Linked DNA regions of Homo sapiens: regions 1 and 2 are each linked to region 3. The links are contacts of gene promoters, found by promoter capture Hi-C in blood cells and fetal thymus (Javierre and others, 2016). All regions are on one chromosome and are shown on one strand. Each heading gives the region's core, a stretch centred on a gene start or on the middle of the fragment in contact. The rest is flanking DNA. Distances are from core to core; before and after follow the strand shown.

Region 1 (2,781 bases), core at 119-2,618, 2.0 Mb after region 3:
AGGATATCTCTCACTTTCTACAATACGCCGTTTTACAGCCCCCACATTCACTCTGCACCTATCTCTATCCCTTCATTAGTACTTTAGGTGAAAAAAGGTTAGTGCTTTTACTTTGTCAAATCTAAGATATTGCATAATGAAGTAGAATGATCTTTGATTTTTCTTCAGTGCTGTCTCAACATACTTTATTTTTTCTTCCCCTTAATTCAGAGACATGAAAAATGCTGTAATTGGAAACAACAAGCAGAAAGCCAATCTCATTGTTTTAGGAGCTGTTCCAAGGTATGTTTGCTGTCTCACCCCTTTCTTGCCATTCATACTAGTTTCTAATGTATTTCTTACTCTCAATTATAGAACCCATTTTTCCTGTATTGTCTGTCTAATTCTTAAAATAAATCCTATTTTTAAAAATAAATGTAAGTATTTAAACTATCTTTAAGGAAAAAAATTATAAAGTAACAGAGAATGTAGTAAGAAGTGAATGTGTTAATACATTTTGGAAACTCAGGAAGACCTTTGACCTGATGACAAAAGGGTTCGTAAAGTACATATGCAATGTACAACAGCCTGATACTTTCTTCTCCATTTCCTTAGAGCCTTGGCAGTTTTTTGTGTGAGTGGGTAATTTATTAGGAGCCTTAAGACCTTTTTGAATTTAAAGGAAAAAAACCCTGCTTGATTTTTAATCCAGTTTCATTTTTTAACTTCTGATTTTTACAACTTGCTGTTTTTTAAGTTAACGTAAGAAGTTTAGGAAGTTTAATTTCTTCTTTTGATGACCTAATAAGCTTCCTTTAGGCAGGCAATGACAGTTACATAACTTCCTCTTTACTTTTGCTCCTCAGAGCTAAGTTTTCTGTGCAATTGCTATTAGCTTTTCATTCAGAATTATTTATTATTTTGTTTTTTTCTCCTTATTTTCTGGTTTTGATACAGAATTAATGGTTTAAGTGTTTTAACTCACCAACCTCAAACATATACTTTAGTAACTATAAAGCTGTCAGCAGCCTTTCTTAGGGGATTTATGTTTGGTATATATAAATAGTGCTTTATGGAGCATGAGGGTCCTGTCTTAGAACATAAGGTAGATGGTTATAAGTGGAGGAAGGTTAGGGTTTGGGGAGTATTTGTTTGGCAAGCTGGGCTGGAGTGGAAATGAGAGGATCTCTTCCTTTTCCAAATGAGAGAGCTGGAGAAAGAAGAAACTACCTTTGCTTGAGGAGCTGCACAAGGGCTCTGAATATTCCCTATAGGCTCGATATCTACAAACTGCACCACTGCTCTGGATTCAGAGCAGTAGCATTTCTAGTTTGAGTTTAAGATCTGGCAGCACATGGCATTTGAGAGTCTTCATATTTTGGAGACCCAGCAGGAAGTGGTAGATGACATGGACTCTGATGACGCTGTTTCTACAGAGACTATCTGTGGACAACTTTCAGATTTACACTTTTTATAAACTCTAAGAATATGATAGTTCTTTTTTTCAAAACCTCTTCTAGATTTTTTTTCCAGATGTTTCTTTAATTAGCAGATGAGATAAACAAATGACCATTGGATTCATATAAACTCAGCCAACCATATTTTTAGTATGTGGACTGCACAGCCTTTTTTGGTCACATTGAGTCTTGTTTAAATTTTTTAGTCTCTTCGTTTATTAAGTTCCTTCTTTTTAGATTGTTGTACTTGCTTCAGCAAGAAACCTCAAGCACAGAGCTGAAAACTGAATGTGCAGTGGTGTTGGGAAGTCTTGCTATGGGTACTGAAAACAATGTCAAGTCTCTACTGGACTGCCATATTATCCCTGCCTTATTGCAAGGTATGTAGGGAAGCCATTTTTGCTCAATTAAGGTTAAGAATCAGTTTGCAGTGCTTTAAATACTGGTTGAAAGGATTAGTCCTAAATCTCATTTCTGTTAATAGGACTACTGTCCCCAGACCTGAAGTTTATTGAAGCTTGCCTCCGATGCCTGCGTACCATCTTCACCAGTCCTGTCACTCCAGAGGAGCTACTGTATACAGTGAGTTTTAGATGTATTTGAGACATTAGTTACATTTCACCAACAGCCTACTCCTAATTTGCTTAGCATCTTCAGACTCATCATAACTGTGTTATGTAAAAAAGTCTCAGTTGGTCATGGTGGCTCACACCAGTAATCCCAGTGCTTTGGGAGGCTGAGGTGGGAGGATTGCTTGAGGCCAGGAGTTCAAGATCAACCAGAGTGACATAACAAGACTCCATCTCTTTTTTTTTTTTTTTTTTTGAGGTGGAGTCTTGCTCTGTCACCCAGGCTAGAGTGCAGTGGCGCGATCTCGGCTCACTGCAACCTTCACCCTGCCAGGTTTAAGCATTTCTCTGCCTCAGCGTCTGGAGTAGCTTGGATTACAGGCGCGTGCCACCACACCCGGCTAATTTTTTGTATTTTTAGGAGAGATAGGGTTTCACCATCTTGGCCAGGCTGGTCTTGAACTCCTGACCTTGTGATCCACCCGCCTCGGCCTCCCAAAGTGCTGGGATTACAGGTGTGAGCCACTGCGCCCGACAACAAGACTCCATCTCTACAAGAAAAAAATAAAAATAAATTAGCCTGGTGCAATGGCTCATGCCTATAGTCCTAGCTCATGAGACTGCAGTGGAAGGATTGCTTGAGCCTAGGAGTTTGAGGTTATACTAAGCTATGATGGTGCCCCTGCACCTCAGCCTAGGTGACAGAATGAGATCCTCTCACTAAAAATAAAAAATGATAAAAGTCTCCGCTGGGTACAGTGGCTCACGCCTGTAAT
Region 2 (3,094 bases), core at 284-2,783, 1.8 Mb before region 3:
TCAGCTGAGCTGGTGCAGACTAGAAGTCCCTCCCAGCTGAGCTACAAAATCATGAAATAAACAGTTGCTCTTTTAAGTCACTAAGCTTTGGGGTGACTTGTTATGCAGCAAAACCTAACTGGCATACACATTGCCTTAGAATCGCAAGACAAGCGAAAGGTGTGGATTAGCAGCAGGGCCAAGCCAACTTCGCCTGGAAGTCAGCAGGGAAACCTCCTTCCACCCCTGCCACCCAAATGTTCTCCAATCTGAGCCATAAACTTCTCCAGAAATGGACGTCTCCTTTATTTTCTTGACTTTGTTTAGGCCCTCCTCCCTTGCCTAGACCACAACAGCTTGCCAATTGGTCTCACTTGCCCCTATCTCCATGTCACACCATCTCTAACAATGCTGGCTAAACTGATTTTCCAAAAGCCAAATCTGAGCATAGCAGTCTTGCTTTTAAGACCATTCATTCCTGGATCTCCTGAGGATGAGGTCTAAGTGTGATATCAAATACCACTCTCAATCTGATCCAAGCCCAACTTTTCAGCCTACTTATGTGACAAATGTATTCTTCATCCACAGTGAATGACTCACCATGTCCCAAAGCCTTTCAAAACTCTGGGCCTTTACACATCTGTCCCCTCTGCTGCAATACCCTTGTCTACCTCCACTAAACTTCTGGTCCTTCCTTATGACCCAGCTTAAACATGACATTCTCTCAGAAGCCTTTCTGATGCCCACCAGGCAATCAGCCACTTCGTATATGATGTGGCTGTTTATGCCCCCACCTAGAATATTTATTATCACAATTACTTATCTATAAGTGTTGCCTTTCTAGACCCCTCAGGAGGAGGAACTGTATCTTATGTTCACATAGTCTTATGGCACACAGTAGGCTTCAAAAAATGCTTGTCAAATGAATGAATGAACAGAAGTTCACAAGACAGGATTTGGAACTTCACAGACCTAGGTATATGTTATATGAAGCCCTACTTACCTGCTACCAGACTTTGGGCAAGTTGCCCTTTCTGATCCTATTCTTTTCCTATAAAATGGGAATAACAGCACCTCCCTCACAGGGTTGTTTAAGAATTAGAGATAATGTATATTTCCAACCTCAGTCCATGGCATAAAACTGGTATTCAATAAATGACATCTATAATTCTTATTATGCTCTCTCTTTTGACTATTTTCCTAAGCTTGAACTAAGCTATGACTTATTTGATATGTATATTATTCATTGAACATATTACTATCTCTTATTCGTAAATGAAAATACAGATGAACTATTTTATTTCTTTGCAAACAGCAACAGCAGATATTCTAACTATAAATTATATTTTATTCAATACTAACTACTCTTCTCAGGGCAGCTGGCATGCTTTAAAGAAAAACAGTCCTGTTTTCCCTTTTTTAGGCCTCTATGACATAAATAGGATTTTAAACAAACATTTATATAAGCAAAACTTTTGGATCACTTATTACATGAGGTTTAACAAACTCCCTGCAGCAGAGTTTTCCAAAGATGGGGAAGAAAAGAGTATTCCAGAAGGCCACTGGCCTAAACGCAAAAGAATACCCAGGTATCTTCTGAATATTTTCCAGGGAACCTAAGATAGGTGTATGCTCCAAGAATGTAAGTTTCTAAAAATGCTGAAAGACTGATGAGCCACAGGCAGGGAAGTAAGAAACAGAGCTCATATGCTGCTGCTTCTTGTTCTTCCCCATCTTGCGCATTAAACTCTCATTATTTGGTTTCTCTGGTTTTCGTGTGGTGGACAGAACATGGCTCAGAAAATCGGGGCTCTAGTCCTGGCATGACTCCTAACTGACCTGGCCATGTTAGCTCCCTGAACCACATTTTTCTTCAAATAAAACATACAACTGGATGCTCTCCAGAAGCTTCTAGAGTTAGAGAATTCCACAGCTTTGATTTCTTTGCCACACTAGTTTATCTTCCATTGATATCCCTCCTCCACTAGTTACTGCCAGATCAATACCTTTAACCCATCCTCAGCTCAAATCATAACCTACCAGTGGTATTGCGACATCCTCATAAGGCAGCTTGTCTTCTCGCCAAGCATCATCAATCAAATCCAAGATCCTTCCATCTCTCTGAACCTCACTGTCCATTTTCCTGCAGCTTTGATCTTGTCAAATCTGTAAGCCAAAGAGGTTATTTCTTAAACACGAAGACTGAAGAGATGGTATAATCCACTATTAGGATTCTCCAGGCTTTTTAGTCTGGGGCCACCTTTTGGGAAAAGGTTCATTTTCTCATATGGGCCGGGTGACTACTTTGATCACAGTTCCTCTCTCCAACCCCAACTGATACATATTTTATAGTGTATACTGGACAGGCATAGCCCAGCTGACAGACCAGTGTCATAGAGTGTGACAGGAGAGCAACACGTTAAACGAGGCCCTCAAATATTAATATGTTGCATCTCAATGTAGCTCTTCTCTTCTAACTTGAACATTCACCTTTTCCTGTTTGTGATGCCTTTGATGAGTCCCTGATTCATAATGGCCAGCTAAGTTTCCTTTCTAGCCCCTGGCTCAAACCTCAGCATTCTTAGGCACAGGAGTCACACGAACATACTGTAAAGGAAACGGCTTCCTTCCCTAAAATAGTACCCAGGCTGAGATCTGAATAAAGCACTTCTAGGTGAACACCAGTGGTAGAACCTCATACTGCTAAAGTTTCTCCAGTTTCTGCTTCCCTTTGGGGTAGCTCCTTCCTCGGAGGTTCCTTCCTCTAATTCTTAACGCTACACTCCCTTCAATTTCTGGCCCAAATGGTCACGATGCTTATTTAGCTCCTTGACCATGGCTGATTCCCCATTTTTCTCTGAAACTGCTATAATCTAATCCAAAAGGCTGGCTAGCTTGTAGGATACTTCTGGATTTCCCTGTTTCCAAGGTTGGGCCCTGACTCATCATAGGCATCATCCTATGGGTGCTCCCTGCTACCAAGTGACAATCCAAAAAGCCCGGAAGCCACTGGCATCAAAGGTACTCTCAGTTTCTGAGACTATGGAGACTCACACAATAAGCAATTTTGGGGTGGTGGAGCGGGGTGGAACCCACCATCTGGAGGTGCTTTTTT
Region 3 (2,765 bases), core at 148-2,647:
TTAAACTTTAGCAAGCAGATCAGAATCACCTAAAGGTCATCTGCTAAAACAGATGGCTGGCCCCAGCCCCAGAGTTTCTGATTTAAAGGTCTGGAGTAAGTTCTGAGAATTCGAGCTTGCATTTCCAACTCACTCCCAGGTGATACTGAAGTTGCTGGATTGACAAGATTCCCTCCTTGATCAAACATTGGTCAGGCTCTTCTGAGCTCTCTCTTTGACTAGGCCTGAGTGTGGGCTCCCATGTCATTCCTTGTGGAATTCCATTTTAGCAAGAAACTTGCCAAGTCAGTTTAGCCAGAATCCTCCATTCTTGATATCTGATTACTCTCCATATCTGGTTTTGACCCATACCGCCACCATCCCCCAGGTGATGTTCAGTTACCCTGACCTGCCTTGGGCAGGAATCCTGTTAGGTCAATTTAGCCAGATTCCCCGCCAATGTTTCCTCTTAGTAATTTTCCATCCACTGACTTCCACACACTGCCCCTTAGCTATAAATTACCACTTTGCTATATTCAGCCCAATCGCTCTGACTTATGGCAAAACTCTATCCCTACCTCTGTCAGATTGGGCCTGAATAAAGTTTGCCTTACCATTCTTAAACATGAATAATTAAGTGTCATGAATAGTTTTTTCTTTAATGGGATCCATACTTTGAGAACTACTGATTAGAGGTTAAGGGTCCTGTGCTCATTATCTGGCACATATTAATGATAGGTCTCTGAGTTTGAATCCTGGCCAACCACATTGTCAGTCTTGGCTTTTTTTTTTTTTTTTTTTTGAGACAGGGTTTTGCCCAGGCTGGAGTGCAGTGATGCAATCACGGCTCACTGCAGCCTCGACTTCCTGGGCCAAGCCATCCTGCCGCCTTAGCCTCCCGAGTAGCTGGGGTCACAGGTGCAAGCCGCCATGCCCAGCTAATTTTTAATTTTTTTGTAGAGGTGGGGTCTTACTATATTGCTCAGGCTGGTCTTGGGCTCCTGGGCTCACCTACCTCGGCCTCAGTCTTGCCTCTTGATCAAATCACTCATCTCTCTGTGCTTGATTTACCTCATCTGTGAAATCCAGATAGTAAGCTAGTGCATGGTAAGTGCAAAAAGCAACACCTGGCACAATGCTTAATAAATGTTGGTTAAATCTTATAATCATTTTCTGTAGGAAGTGGGACGACAAAGTTAAGGGTCTAGGTGGTCAGAGAAGAGCAAGGACTATGTCCCTTTTTTGTGCAGCCAGGCAGGCCCTGTACTTTTTCTCTGCGCGACCCTCCTCGGGCAGCACCGGGTCTCGAACTCTCACGCCTTACTCCCAAGCAGGTTCTGTAGTCCAGCCCCCGCGGCTCCCTACAGCCAGCCGATGCTGCGCAAGCGCCGTACCCACGCTTTAGCACATGCGTACTCAGGTGCGCCGGTAGGGGACGCGCCGGCACAGCAAAAATGGCGGCGGCATTACGGGTGGCGGCGGTCGGGGCAAGGCTCAGCGTTCTGGCGAGCGGTCTCCGCGCCGCGGTCCGCAGCCTTTGCAGCCAGGCCACCTCTGTTAACGAACGCATCGAAAACAAGCGCCGGACCGCGCTGCTGGGAGGGGGCCAACGCCGTATTGACGCGCAGCACAAGCGAGTGAGTCCTGAGGGGCCTAAGTGAGTCCCGCCCCTGGCGTCCGCGACCTATCACTGCGTGCCCGGCTTGCGGCGTCCGAGGCCTCCCTGCCAATCCGCACGGTGCCTGGAGGGGCCGGAGCAAGGGTGTTCACCTTGAAAACCTGTAGCGTTTCTCGTGGAGGCGGGTATAACCAGCAGAAGCACCTGTGTGCTTTTTCATACTGTTTAACCCTTGGGATTTAGACGGATCTGGCTCGTCTCTAGCCAGCTCAACACTTAACATAAGCTTTTGGGCAACTTATTAAATCTCTGTGGGTCATTTTAATAATAATTCTTCCTTCACAAGTGTATCGTTAGACCATAGATAGCAAAATGATAGGCGCTCAGTAAAAACCATGTGCTTATTCTCGTGCCCCATGAAAGAGTGATGGTAGGTTCTTTCTCCTTTGTGGAAGCAGGAAAACTGAACTTGGGCATACTCCACTAACATGAAATGGGGGATGTGCGCGTGCAGGAACTTGTGGAACTTCTGCCCGCAGAATGCCTGGTCGAGCTCTTTAGGGCCTTAGCATGCCTCGCCTTGATGGGTAGCAAAGGCACGTGTCGGAAGCAGGTGGCCTTTCTGGGAGTGCGCAGGCTACTCTCGATGTTTGGCTGGACTGAGCAGTTGAAACACTGCCACCCACCGCCTGGGTTTTGAGGCGAGAATCCAGCTGGCCTTCAGAGATAAGCTGGGCGGCCCATTTTGGAGAGGTGATCCCTGACTTGAAACCAGGCTTGCCCAGTGTGTCCGTGACTGGTGGGTGAGTCTGGACCGTTGTGCTGAACGAATTAACCAACGGGAAGGTGCAGAAGTGAAACTCTTACAGATGAAGAGTATTCAGGCACAACTCACAACCATGAGGGAGGCACTGGGGGAGGGATGGGGTCTTAAAGTGAGGAGATTTGAACAGCTCTATATTTGTCTAATATTGATTCAGATGTCATAAATTCGCATTTGACAAGGGTCCAAAGGTAACAGTTCCTTTTGACACTTGAGAGTGAAATGTAAATTTAGTGATGGTTTGTGGTGCTAGGAGTGCTTTCTCTCCCCTGGGGCTACTTCTAACCTACTCTGTTAGGGCTGAGGGAGATGTTAGATCATCCTCTGGAAAGGCCTGTCAGTGCT

What was found. The method cuts DNA at HindIII sites, captures the fragments that hold promoters and counts their contacts. A CHiCAGO score of 5 or more calls a contact.
Region 1: a contact is called between a fragment that was not itself captured here and the fragment with the promoter of PCCB in region 3, in 1 of 17 cell types (activated CD4 T cells). The highest score is 5.3, in activated CD4 T cells.
Region 2: a contact is called between a fragment that was not itself captured here and the fragment with the promoter of PCCB in region 3, in 2 of 17 cell types (total B cells and non-activated CD4 T cells). The highest score is 5.8, in total B cells.

The regions. Positions count from the first base shown.
Region 1 is chr3:138,221,716-138,224,496 of GRCh38, forward strand. It overlaps ARMC8 (armadillo repeat containing 8), which reads left to right. Exons shown (of 22, transcript NM_001363941.2): 3 at 211-282; 4 at 1,674-1,816; 5 at 1,921-2,018. Among named protein-coding and RNA genes, the nearest start is that of ARMC8, 36 kb to the left of the region's middle. The HindIII fragment of the contact is 1,165 bases long and covers 787-1,951 here.
Region 2 is chr3:134,480,787-134,483,880 of GRCh38, forward strand. It overlaps ANAPC13 (anaphase promoting complex subunit 13), which reads right to left. Exons shown (of 3, transcript NM_015391.4): 2 at 2,020-2,145. The coding sequence starts at 2,118. Among named protein-coding and RNA genes, the nearest start is that of ANAPC13, 3.7 kb to the right of the region's middle. The HindIII fragment of the contact is 703 bases long and covers 1,183-1,885 here.
Region 3 is chr3:136,248,943-136,251,707 of GRCh38, forward strand. It overlaps PCCB (propionyl-CoA carboxylase subunit beta), which reads left to right and starts at 1,398. Exons shown (of 15, transcript NM_000532.5): 1 at 1,398-1,616. The coding sequence starts at 1,434. RefSeq lists enhancers at 1,037-1,903, 1,133-1,192, 1,823-1,872. The HindIII fragment of the contact is 10,493 bases long and covers 1-1,881 here.